2 separate regions of the Homo sapiens genome follow, and region 1 is linked to region 2. Evidence: promoter capture Hi-C in human tissues and cell types (Jung and others, 2019). All regions are on one chromosome and are shown on one strand. Each heading gives the region's core, a stretch centred on a gene start or on the middle of the fragment in contact. The rest is flanking DNA. Distances are from core to core; before and after follow the strand shown.

Region 1 (6,405 bases), core at 160-2,659, 170 kb before region 2:
ACCATTTCCCAAGGTGGTGATAACGTTTTGCTTTTTTTTTTTTTTTTTTTTTTTTTTAGGGGGGCTGTTATGAGTGCTGGAAACCAAGAAAGGATGAGCAAAGAAAAAAGTTCCCCTGAGTCATTTGGCCCCAAACATTTTAGCATACCCAAAGGCGCCAGAGCCCTTTCAGTAACATGTATTATTCCTGTTAAAGATCCTTCCCCTTGGTTTGGGTTCTGTAGCTAGACAAAGAGAAGGTTAAGAACATCTGCTTCTGTGTCACATTGTTCCAAACTTTTCTTTTCTTTTCTTTTCTTTTTTTGAGACGGGGTCTCACTCTGTTGCCCAGGCTGGAGTGCAGTGGCAAAATCTCCCGCTCACTGCAACCTCTGCCTCCTGGGTTCAACTGATTCTCCTACCTCAGCCTCCAGAGCAGCTGGGACTACAGGCTCCCGCCACCATGCCAGGCTAATTTTTGTATTTGTCCCAAAGTTTTCTGCTTGACCTAGATAAAACTTGGGTATTAATTTATCAGTTACCTTTTAAACACATTTTAAAATTTACATTTGCAACACCCCTTTGATTATTAACTTCCATTATATGTTGAGGCAAGTCAGTACGAAGTGGTTTCAAAGTCACATAATACTTTAAAAATGGATAGCGTATTAAGGTAATATAAAGGGTCTTGGGTCTGTGAAGCTAGAGAAGATCCAGACCAGGAGAAAGTCTCAGGTATTTAAGAGCATGTTTTCTGGTTAAGGAAAGGATAATTGAAAGCAGCCGCAAGTGCCATGTTTCGTTCATTTACCATCATTATCAACGACTTATTTAATGTAGTCATAATTTTGTAATCGGGATTTCTGAAGTTCCATAAACTGGAGCTAACATATGTTGCCTCACTAGCATTAACTACAGATGTTAACATACTAACCTTTCACTCTGGAGTTTGGGACAGTGAGTGATTATTTGTTATTATACTATTTTCTTTTTGAGATGGGGTCTCACTCTGTTGCCCAGGCTGGAGTGCAGTGGTGCGATCCTGGCTTACTGCAACCTCCGCCTCCCAGGTTCAAGCAATTCTCCTGCCTTGGCCTCCCGAGTAGCTGCGATTACAGGCAAGCACCACCAAGCCGGGCTAGTTTTTGTATTTTTAGTAGAGATAGGGCTTCACCATGTTGTCCAGGCTGGTCTCAAACTCCTGACCTCAGGTAATCCTCCGGTCTTAGCCTCCTAAAGTGCTGGGATTACAGGTATGAGCCACCATGCCCAGCCCTTTTATGCTATTTCTTTGGCAAACACAAAAAGGAATGGTCTGGTCCAGTGGTCCCCAAACTTTTTGGCCCCAGGGACCGGTTTCATGAAAGATAATTTTTCTATGGATGGGAGCAAGAGGGGGATGGTTTGGGATGGTTCAAGTGCGTTACATTTATTGTGCACTTTATTTCTATTATTATTACATTGTAATATATAATGAAATAATTCTACAACTCACCGTAATGTAGAATCAGTGGGAGCCCTGAGCTTATTTTTGTGCAACTAGATAGTCCCATCTGGGGGTGACGGGAGACAGTGACAGATCATCAGGTATTGGATTCTCATAAGAAGCACACAACCTAGATCCCTCGCATGTGCAGTTCACAACAGGGTTTGTGCTCCTATGAGAATCAAATGCCTCTGCGGACCTGACAGGAAGCAGAGCTCTGGTGGTAATGCCAGCAATGGGGAGTGGTTGTAAATATAGGTGAAGCTTTGCTCACTCATTCCCTGTTCACCTCCTGCTGTGCTCCAGGTTCCTAACAGGCCACAGTACCGGTCTGTGGCCTGGGGCTTGGGGACCTCTGGTCTGGTCAATTACACATTTCTCCTGAATTCTGGAGAGACAACATACCAGTTCCTCAGAGGAAACAAAGATTTTCTTAAAAATCACATCAAATTAAATTACTGCTTTTTGCTTATTGAAGTGGATAATCTTACTCTTGTTTTTGTCATTGAAAAGACACTAGGCCAGGTATGGTGGTTTACACCTATAATCCCAGCACTTTGGGAGGCTGATGTAGGTGAATCCCTTGAACTCAGGATTTTGAGACCAGCTTCAGCAACATATTTATGTTCTATAAATGTATGTTCTATAAATAATACAAAAATTAGCTGTGTGTGGTGATGTGCAGGTGTATTACGTATTTTCTATAAATAATACAAAACTTAGCTGGGCGTGGCGATGTGCACCTGTAGTCCCAGCTGCTTGGGAAGCTGAGGTGGAAGAATCACTCAAGCCTTGGAGGTTGAGGCTGCAGTGAGCTGTGATTGCGCTACTGTACTCCAGCCTGAGCAACAAAATGAGAACTTGTCTCCAAAAAACAAACAAACAAACAAACCCCACCACATTCTCAAGTTATAAGAAGTTAGTTCTTCTTCCCTCATGTTACTTAAGATTTGAATTCATGATTGTATAGAATCATTAGTTGTCTTAAACAAGCAAGGGCACTAAATGAATGACCATTACAGGGAAGACAGTAGATTCCATGAGAGGATGTGTCTTGAGAATGTATATGAACATGAAGACTTCATCTTTGAGAAAGAGGAATAACTTTCAGAGGAAGGTGATTCAAGTGAACCAAGACATGACACTGAAGAAGAATGGTGGGGGTGGTAGGGAGTAAAACTATCGCAGCTGTGTGTACACAAAAGGGAATGAACCAGGGTTGGGAGTGCAGTGGTGTGAGTTGTGACTTGGGCCTAGAATGCTTGATTGAACATAGCATTACTGGCTTTGCTGTCCTGAGTGAGTCAGTGGGCAGTTGTAAAAAAAAAAAAAAAAAAGATGAATAATTTAACTTTTAATAAACAAAGTTTGACAATCCTCTGCATAAAACATTTCTTATCTAATGCTTTTAATATTTTTTTATCACTAGTTTTGAAGAACTTAATTATAATGTACATGTAAGTAGATTTTCTTATGTTTCTTTTGCTTGGGGTTCGTGGACTTTCTAGATCTATATGCTTATAGTTCTAGCAATTTGGAAACATTTCAATTTCAGTATTTAAATCTCAGTTTTCAACTGTAAGTTCTTTGAATACTTTTTGCCCCCTCCTATGTATCCAGAGACTGCTTTTAGGCGTACGTTGGGCCCCTTGCAGCTGTCCCGCAGGTCACTGATACTCCGTTCATACACTTTTTAAATGCTCTTTAATGTGTTTCATTTTGTTTAGTTTTCATTGCAATGTCTTCGGATTCGGGCATCTTTTCTTTCACAGTGTCTTTTTTTTCTAACTTTTATTTTAGGTTTGGGGCTACCTGTGAAGGTTTGTTACATGGGTAAACATGTGTCATGGGGGTTTGTTGTACAGATTATTTCATCACTCAGGCATTATACCCAGTACCCAATAGATACCTTTTCTGCTCCTCTCCCTTCTCTCACCCTATCCCCTTGAGTAGACCATGGTGTCTGTGATTTCCTTTTCTGTGTTCATAAGTTCTTATCATTTAGCTCCCACTTATAAATGAGATCATGAGGTGTTTAGTTTTGTTTCTTCATTAGTTTGCTAAGGATAGTAGCCCCCAGCTCCATCCATGTTCCTGTAAAAGGCAGGATTTCATTCTTTTTTCATGGCTGCACAGTATTCCATGGTGTATATGTACCACATTTTCTTTATTCAATCTGTGATTGATGGGCACTTAGGTTGAATTCAAGTCTTTGCTATTGCGACAAGTGCTGCAGTTATCATTCACATGCATGTGTCTTCGTGGTAGAAGGATTTATATTCTTCTGGGTATATACCCAGTAATGGGATTGTTGAATTGAATGGTAGTTCTGTCTAAAACTATAAAAACGCTGGAAAACAACCTAGGCAATACCATCTTGGACACAGACAGGAATGGGCAAAGATTTCGTGACAAAGACACCAAAAGCAATCGCAACAAAAGCAAAAATTGACAAGTGGGATCTAATGAAACTTAAGAGCTTCTGGACAGCAAAAGAAACTATCCACAGAGGGCAGGGCATGGTGGCTCACGCCTGTAATCCCAGCACTTTGGGAGGCCGAGACGGGTGGATCACGAGGTCAGGAGCTCGAGACCATTCTGGGTAACGTGGTGAAACCCCGTCTCTACTAAAAATACAAAAAATTAGCAGGGCGCGGTGGAGGGCGCCTGTAGTCCCAGCTACTCTGGAGGCTGAGGCAGGTGAATGGCGTGAACCCGGGAGGCGGAGCTTGCTTGCAGTGAGCCGAGATCGCGCCACTGCACTCCAGGCTGGGCGACAGAGCCACACTCCGTCTCAAAAAAAAAAAAAAAAAAAAACCTATCAACAGAGTAAACAGACAATGTACAGACTGGGAGAAAATATTTGCAAACTATGCACCTGACAAAGGACTAATGTATATCCAGCATCTCGAAGGAACTTAAACAAATCTACCAGAGAAAAACAAACAACCCCATTAAAAAGTAGGCAAAAGGCTGGGCGTGGTGGCTCACACCTGTAATCCCAGCACTTTGAGAGACTGAGGCTGGTGGATCACCTGAGGTTAGGAGTTTGAGACCAGCCTGGTCAACATGGTGAAACCCTGTCTCATGTAAAAATACAAGGAAAAATTAGCCAAGCGTGGTGGCGCCTGCCTGTAATCCCAGCTACTCTGGAGGCTGAGGCAGGAGAATCACTTGAACCCAGGAGGCGGAGATTGCAGTGAGCTGAGATTGCGCTACCGCACTCCAGCCTAGGCAACAGAGCGAGATCAGTCTCAAAAATAAATAAATTAAAAAAAAAAAAGAAAAGTAGGCAAAGGACATGAACAGGCACTTCTCAAAAGAAGACATACTTGTGGCCTACAAGCACATGAAAAAAGCTCAACATCGCTGATCATTAGAAAAATGCAAATCAAAACCACAATGAGACACTGTCTCACATCAGTCAGAATGCCTATTATTAAAAAGTCAAAAAATAATAGATGCTGGTGAGGATGCAGAGAAAAGGGAATATTTATATACTGTTAGTGGGGGTGTAAATTAGTTCAACCCTTGTGGAAAGCAGTACGGAGATTCCTCAAAGAGCTAAACTGCAGTGTCTTATATCTACTAGTAATTTGAGGACTTTTAAAAATTATTCATTGTAGCTAAAGGTTTACTAATATTGTTAATCTTTTCTAAGGTCCAACTTTTGGCTTTGTTTATTTTCTCTATTTTCCACTCTATTTTATGTACATACCTTCTAGTATTTATTGTTCATTTGGCTGGCGTTGGGTTTAATTTATTTTCCTTTTTCTAGTTACTTAAGGGATGAAGTTAGGTTGTTGGTTTAAGATGTTCTTTCCAATGTATTTAAAGATATAAATTTGCCTCTAAGCACTACTTTTGTTGCATCCCGTATGTTTTGGTATGTTGTGTTTTTATTTTCATTAGCTTTAAGATATTTTCTAATTTCCCTTGTATTTTTTCTTTGACTCATTGGTTATTTAAAAGTGTTGTTTACATTCTAACTAATTTTCAAATTTTTAGTTTTACTTCTGTTACTGAATTCTAGTTTCATTCCATTGTGATAGGAAATAATGCTTTCTATGAGTTTACTCTTTTAAAATTAATTAAGACCAGTTTTGTGGTCTAACATATAGTCTGTCCTGAAGAATTCTCCATGTGCACTTCAAAAAAATGTATATTCTGCTGCTGTTGGTTGGAATATTCCATATGTCTTTTAGGTCCAGTTGGTCCATAGTGTTGCTCAAGTCCTCTACTTTCTTATTGTTCTGGTTGTTTTTTGCATTATTGGACATAGGCATTACATTCTCCAAGTATTATTGGAGAGCTATCTATTTGTCTCTTCAGTTATGTCAAAGTTTGTTTCATATATTTAAAGGTTCTGATATTTAGTGCCTATATGTTTATAATTGTGATTTATTCTTGAGGAATTGACACTTTTATTAATATATGATATTCTTTGTCTTTTATATATATACATTTACTTTATCTGACATTAGTATGGCCATCCCAATTTCTTTTGGTTACTCTTTGCTTGGAATATCTTTTCCATTCTTTCATTTTCAACTTATATGTGTTTTCAGGTCTGAAGTGAGTCTTTTATAGACACCTTCTTATTAGATCCTGTTTTTGCTATCAATTCTGCCCATCCATGCCTTTTAATTGGGAATTTTAATTCATTTATATTTAATGCAATTACTGATGGGGAAGGACTTATATTTTCCATTTTCCTATTTATTTCAGGGTGTCTTATAGTTATTTTCCCACTCATTTTTTCCATTATTGACTTTCTTTGTGATTAGCTGTTTTTTTTTTTTTTTTTGTAGAGACACATTTTCATTATCTTCTCCTTTCCTTTTGTGTATATTCTATAATTTGTGTTAACTTAAAGATTATTTATAATATTTAAAATTTTTAACAACCTATTTTTAATCAATACTAACAACTTCAGTGGC
Region 2 (6,941 bases), core at 1,080-3,579:
ACATATGGATGTTTTCTACAAATGTATTATTCACTGAAAGAAGCTTTTCATAAAATGTTTGAAACATTTACATCTTACCATTTCTTCTTCATTATCTATACAAAGCAGACTAGAAGAGTTCTTTGAAGCACAGGCCTGCAAACTCTCTTCCCAAGTTCTTCTTTCCTTACCAATGTAATAACAACTGTTGGAATATGTAATCCACTCCTCAGGACAATGGCCACAATGACGTGCTAATAAAGATATGAATTACTATCTAGACCAATATGAATTTTTAAAAATGAAAATTAGTTCACATATTTGCAACAGTATAAACATATATGTGCTTAACATATTTATGCATCCTTACAGGCTTATAAGTATATATTTTTTAATAACTGAGTCAGTCATACACACATACACAGAAAAGGGTTAGCCTCTCTCCCCTAATTGTGTTCCCATATAAAGCAAACCAACAAACAAAAATACACTCCACACATGTCTTGAACCTCACTGATACACAACTGCTTTTTTAGAATAGTAAAATTATTTATTTGGTATCATCTCACAGCAGTAGGAGACTTCTGTTAATTGGGAGAAAGAGGGTAGAATGATTTTAAGTGAGTATTTCTACTTACTGGAGAAAAGGAAATGCTGCCTCATAATCTTTCTTTATAAATATTTATGGCTGAATTTATGGCTTATTTTCTGCAAAAATGCCACTATTCTTTTACATGCCTTAAAACAGACACAAAATATAAATTGTACTAATATCAGAGCATTGAAAATAAAAATGTACCTTTCTGGGTTCTTGCATTCGGGGAAGAATTGTTCTGCTCCAGGACTGTAATAGAAAAATTAAAATGATTTTTATAAAAACTGATATCTAGATAAACCATAATGAGTTTAGTTTCTTACTTTGAAACTTTGTGTGTTATTTAAAATGGGGAGAATCTTTAATAAAATTAACTTTTTCTATAAAAATATATAAAGTAATAGACCTTTGAAATAAACATTTTTAAAGACTTTAGCACAAAACTTCACCATCTCTTGTAGTATTTGATGTAACCACTTTCAAAAATTAGTTTTTCTAAATACTTTTCTTCTATAGCATGCCTTTGAATTATGAAATCAGAAAATATCTTTGTGTGTGTATGTATATACATATATATAGATTACACACAAAAAATAAACACATGTTCTCTACAATGATTTTGTTATTTATGTTGTGAAAAATTCAGAATAACCATATTATTTTGGTTCCAAATTGTACTAATATCAGAACTTTGAAAATAAAAATGTACTTTTCTGGGTTCTTGTATTTGGGGAAGAATTGTTCTGCTCCAGGACTGTAATAGAAAAATTAAAATGATTTTTATAAAAAGTAATATTTAGATAAACCATAATGAGTTTAGTTTCTTACTTTGAAACTTTGTGTGTTATTTAAAATGGGGACAATCTTTAATAAAATTAACTTTTTCTATAAAAATAAATGAAGTAATAGATCTTTGAAAGAAACAGTAAAATAAGAGTTCTATTCTTCAACAGTATGAAATATTTTGAGGCACTTCCAAGCATTAAAGTAAAACGTTCCCTTCTAATCTTTCAAGAATATGCTTACAAGGAATAAGAACTATTGTTTTTAACACAGTGGCCATCAGGACAATGCAAATGATTCCTAGGACCTCGGCAGTGAGCTTTTCTGGAGGTGGCAGTAAACCTGCAGGGAGAGAAATAGAGGCACTGAGAGAGGGGAGATAGAGAGTTGATTAGGATTACATACTAGAGAATTACATACTAGAGAACCCACATGCACAGGGAAACATAATGATAAACTCTGGCCGCTAAATCTACATCTACTCTAGTAATCTTTCTCTCAGAATATACCATTTCATTTTCAGTAAATGTAATGTTCCATGAGTGGATTGCAGATTACAGTTGATTACAGTTGAACAATGCCTGAATAAAATTAGTCTTCTGATTTCATATTAGAATATTAGATCCCATTTATGAACTCTGATTCTCACAAGTGTAAAATATTCCCTAATCTTTCCTCACCCTTCTGCATTCAACTGCACATCCCAGAACAATAACATTGAAGATATATTTAATGTTTTACCTTGGCAGTCATATATTTTATCAATCCCTTGATGATTCAGAGAAGCATTTTGAAGGTTTAATTCTACTTGGAATATTTCCTGTTCGGTTCCTGAAATGGAGCTTTTATTGCCTTTAGGTTTCCTTTGCTGCCACTTTGGGTCCTGGGCCAGACTCACTTCTGAGAAGGTTCCTCTTTGTTTACTCATCTCTGCAGCTGTGTGATGTGAGGGACTGTGCTCTATGATAACTGCACTTAAGAAGCTATAAATGGTGTATATTTTGACAGGATCCCTGGTATAGGCAATGTGCATGTGTTGGGGCTGAGTAATAATGTTTACTTTGCTGTTAACCTAGGTAAAATTCTGCTACTAATTTCCTAAAGCTTTAAACAAAAATCACACGATATAATTGGCCATTTTTTAGATGTATTCTGTATTTGACATAATATTACTAGTGGGAACAATAAAAACATTAAACTTGTGAGAACTAGGAAGTTCATGAAAAAAATTGGTATTAAATTAAGGTTAGATTCTTCAAAAATGTTTAACACCAATAGACTGCATACTTTAACAATTAAAATACTGTATTTAGAAATACACTAATTTTACCATAGTTTTAAGAGTCATTGATGGTTAATGATTGTGTGCCATAAGATAAAATAGTTCTGTCAGCATACAGAGTAACTTCTTATACTAACATACATTGTTAGTGAGTTACATTCATTTATTAAAAGGACCTGAGGTATTGTCAACTGATTATTTTTCTAAATTAGGAAATCAGAAAAATCATTAAAATTTTAAAAATATATCTTGTAAAACATTACATTACTGTATGCATAAATACTATTGAAAACATAATATATTTTTAAATTGCTGCTTTTACACAAGAAATTGGTAATTGATTTAATGACTAAAATAGGAAAACTTAAAATGATAAATAAACGTGTGGGCCGTCTATGGAAGAATAGTGTCCAATCAAACTTTCAGAAAGCTCCTATGATTGTATAAGTCAGTGAGGGTCGCTTTGGTTGTATAAGTAATTGTAATAGTTCAGATAATGTAATTTAATAATCTAGTCAATGAGCTCTGTAGTCAGTGAGACTACAATTAATTCTAGCTTTGCAAGTTGTAATATGTGACCTGTACTAAATTACTTAGTGTCTACTAACCTAGTTTACTAATCTACATTGGGAAAAATAATTTATAAAGTATAATGTATGTAGAAAACTAAACACACAACCTGGCACATATTAGCACTGAATACATAATAGATATTTCAACTATTTTTAACACAATTGCCATTTTATTATTTCTGATTTGCATTAGAGTGTGTTAAAATAACTCATTAATTAGGCGTCTCATGTCAGTGTGGTACATCTTTTTTGCAATGTTTGGTTCAATTGTTTTAAGTCTTCCAATTGTTTATAATTAAGGTCAGATTTGCATTTTATGGAAATGATTTCATCCTTACTTTTATTAAAAATTAAAACTGCTTTCATGAAATCTAGGTGTGTGATTGAGAATTAATGTTTGACATTCACAATTTGATGTATCCATATTAAAAATTTATTTTTAAAGTTTGGTCTAAATATAATATACAATTAAACCAGTAATGATTACAAAATCCAAAATTAATTGTTCATTGTCATGATGGTTATGGGTTTCACTCTAAATTACATGGATTGGCAAACCTATTATTATGTATGCATCTACTTGAGTGATTCTCCAGCGGCAATGATGTGAATACTCTAAGAAATCCTTAAACATAGTTTATATTTTGGCTCGTTTTTCACCTTGAATTATTCACGTGAATAAAGTTCTACCTTGATTTTCGTCTATATCAACTTTACCTCAGGTGCATCACAGCCAGTACTTACAATCTTCTACTAAATGAGATGAGCTAGTAGAGAAACAGGGAGAGGAGCAACACTTACCTACTGTCATCAGAAAGCCACACGCCCTTCAGTGGAGAGGTCAGGTTACCTCTGAAAGACACAAACGTTATCTGTGATCTTCACAGACTGCCCTTTGAAGGGTCAGAGTGAGGCAAGAGTGGAAAAAGTAGATTCCTCACCAATGTGTCACTGCAGATTTGAACAGGAAATTCTCACCCTAGGGCTATTTTGAATCAGTTTGTCTCATCACACACTTTAGAATATAGGAGACTTTGGGTGGCTAGTGTGTCATTTAGTTTGTCCATTTTAAAGTGCCTCTTAGAAATTATTTTTATGGTCAACAAGATGAGGGGAGAGCAGAGATTTGATCCATGCTGGTGATTGTTTCCATCTCAGTCACAAACACCAAAGTTTTGTAACTTTTCAAAAGGATCTTAGGTGGTTGCTTTCTACATTTAGACAAGGTGGCTGAAACTTGACATTATATACTTTTTTATCATATACCCCTATAATATCACTGCTATCATAATAACAAAATTTAAATAATGATTTTATCAATAGGAATTTAATGTACTTGTCACTATTTTGAGAAAATGCTGCATTTTCAACTTAATTGTAACTGACATGCATTCTCAAACTTATCTTCTTGCTTTCTTTGCCTTAGTTCTTAAAATTCCCTCATTCAATTTTTCTTCTTTATATAAGTTAACCAGATTCCTGATTAAAATAAATGTCTCTTGAAAGAATAAAATATTAAACAATACTGAGCTATATCTCTATGCCAGAGACTGAAATAATAAAAAAACTACCTACTATATTGTTCACCGGTTCCTTCTCTAATCATGACTTACTGTCTGCATTTTAATAGAAATATTTGTTGTAAATGACTAAAGCCTAAGTTAAACTATGAAGGGAGGTTAAAGCAATTTTTAAAACATCACCTACTTAAAAATGGGGAGGCCAGAAAATGGAGATTTTTTAAAACACAAGTAAAATGATACATGAATGTCCGGGCATGGTAGCTCATGTCAGTAATCCCAGCACTCCAGGATCACTTGAGCTCAGGAGTTTGAGGTTAGCATGATACACAGGATGAAACCCCATCTCTTAAAAAAAAAAAAAAAAAAAAAAAAAATATATATATATATATATATATATATGAATTAGCCGAGGATGCTGGTGTTTGCTTGTAGTCCCATCTGCTCTGGAGGCTGAGGTGAGAGGATCGCTTGAGCCCTGGGGGTCAAGGCTGCAGTGAACTGTTAGTGTCACTGCACTGTAGCCTGGGCAACAGAGCCAGACCTTGTCTCAAAAACAAATAAACAAAAACTTTTAAAAAATAAATGGTATACGAACATCAGGGAAAAAACTATAAATTATCTAGTTGTATTAAATAAAAATCTTTTCATCATTTATTTTCTATCAAGAAAAGGGGGAATGTTTATGCATAATTCTATTGCCCAGGCTGGAGTGCAGTGGTGCCATCTCGGCTCACTGCAACCTCTGCCTCCTGGGCTCAAGCGATTCTCCTGCCTCAGCCTCCTGAGTAGCTGGGATTACAGGCGTGTGCCACCAGGCCCAGCTAATTTTTTTTGTATTTTTAGTAGAGACGAGGTTTCACCGTGTTAGCCAGGATGGTCTTGATCTCCTGACCTCGTTATCCGTCTGCCTCGGCCTTCCAATGTGCTGGGATTACAGGCGTGAGCCACTGTGCCCGGCTATTCTCTAAAATCTAAAAAGTTGGAATTTAAACCCATATTTATTTCTTTGCAATGAGAATTATTATTTGCCCTTCCATCAGAATGGCTAATGGTGGCTAGGTATATATGTTTTTCTGTAAAATATATTGTAATATATTTTCACAAAATTAATTAATAATGTCATATGCATATATGCTTGTGTTCATATTGTATCTTTTTCTATTACAAGTATATTTATATTTACATTTTATTACATTTTCATAAACTAGGTTACTTTTTCTATTAGTCACGTTATGGAACTAAAACAATAAAATCATTCACTAAAGATGCCACATAATGTATCATTCACTGATGTTTTCTATTTAAGTCTGAAGTGCTGATGTCTACTATTGCTACAAACATCCACTTGGTGTTTTCCATTAGTGTTATACCATTATTGTTTGCATAATGACAGGGATACCTCTGAGGAATATGTCTTTAGGCAATTTCATCCCTGTGTCAACATCAAAGAGTTTATTTACACAAACCTAGATGGTACAGCTACTACACTCCTGTGTTATATGGGATAGGCTATTGCTCCAAGGATACAAACCTGTACAATATGTTACTGTTGTGAATAATGCAAGCAGTGACCAGAATGGTAATTTTTGTTTATCTAATTATATATAAACCAAAAAAACAGTAAAATATGGTTTAAAAAAAGGTTAAAATGGCATCCTTTTATAGGGCACTTACTACGAATGAAGACTGCAGAAATGGAATTTTCCCTGGGTGAGTCAGTGAGTAAGTAGCAAGTGAAAGTCAAGGCCTAGGATATTACAGCACACTACTGTAGGATTTATACACTGTACACTAGGGTACACTATATTTATGCAGCACTTTTTTTCTTGAGCTAATAATAAATTAACTTTACTGCACCTTTGTTGGTTTCTAAATTTTTCATATTTTAAAAATCTTCTGCCTCTTTTTAAATACACTTTATTTAAAAACACAAATTGCACAGTCTTAACAACTATATTCTTTTTATGAGCTTTTTTCTATATTTCATTTTAATTTTTTTCTTTTTAAACTTTTTTTAAAAACGAAGACACGAAAACATACATTAGCCTAAGCCTACGCAGTGTCAGCAAGATCAATCTCACTGTCATCCCCTCCACATCTTGTCCCACTGGAAGGTTCAGGCAATAACACACGTGCAGCTGTCCTCTCCTATGGTAACAGTGCCTTCTTCTGGAATTCCTCCTGAGGGACCTGCCCAAGGTTGTTTT

The links. The method cuts DNA at HindIII sites, captures the fragments that hold promoters and counts their contacts. A contact is called where the count stands out against the background at its distance.
Region 1: a fragment that was not itself captured here is called in contact with the fragment with the promoter of KLRC3 in region 2 in 1 of the 25 tissues and cell types used here (bladder).

The regions. Positions count from the first base shown.
Region 1 is chr12:10,250,171-10,256,575 of GRCh38, forward strand. It overlaps a transcript of KLRD1 not described here. Among named protein-coding and RNA genes, the nearest start is that of GABARAPL1-AS1, 38 kb to the left of the region's middle. The HindIII fragment of the contact is 5,787 bases long and covers 1-4,303 here.
Region 2 is chr12:10,418,266-10,425,206 of GRCh38, forward strand. KLRC3 (killer cell lectin like receptor C3) reads right to left here and starts at 2,330. Exons shown (of 7, transcript NM_002261.3): 1 at 2,099-2,330; 2 at 1,601-1,699; 3 at 779-823; 4 at 79-233. The coding sequence starts at 2,285. The HindIII fragment of the contact is 7,239 bases long and covers 1-6,285 here.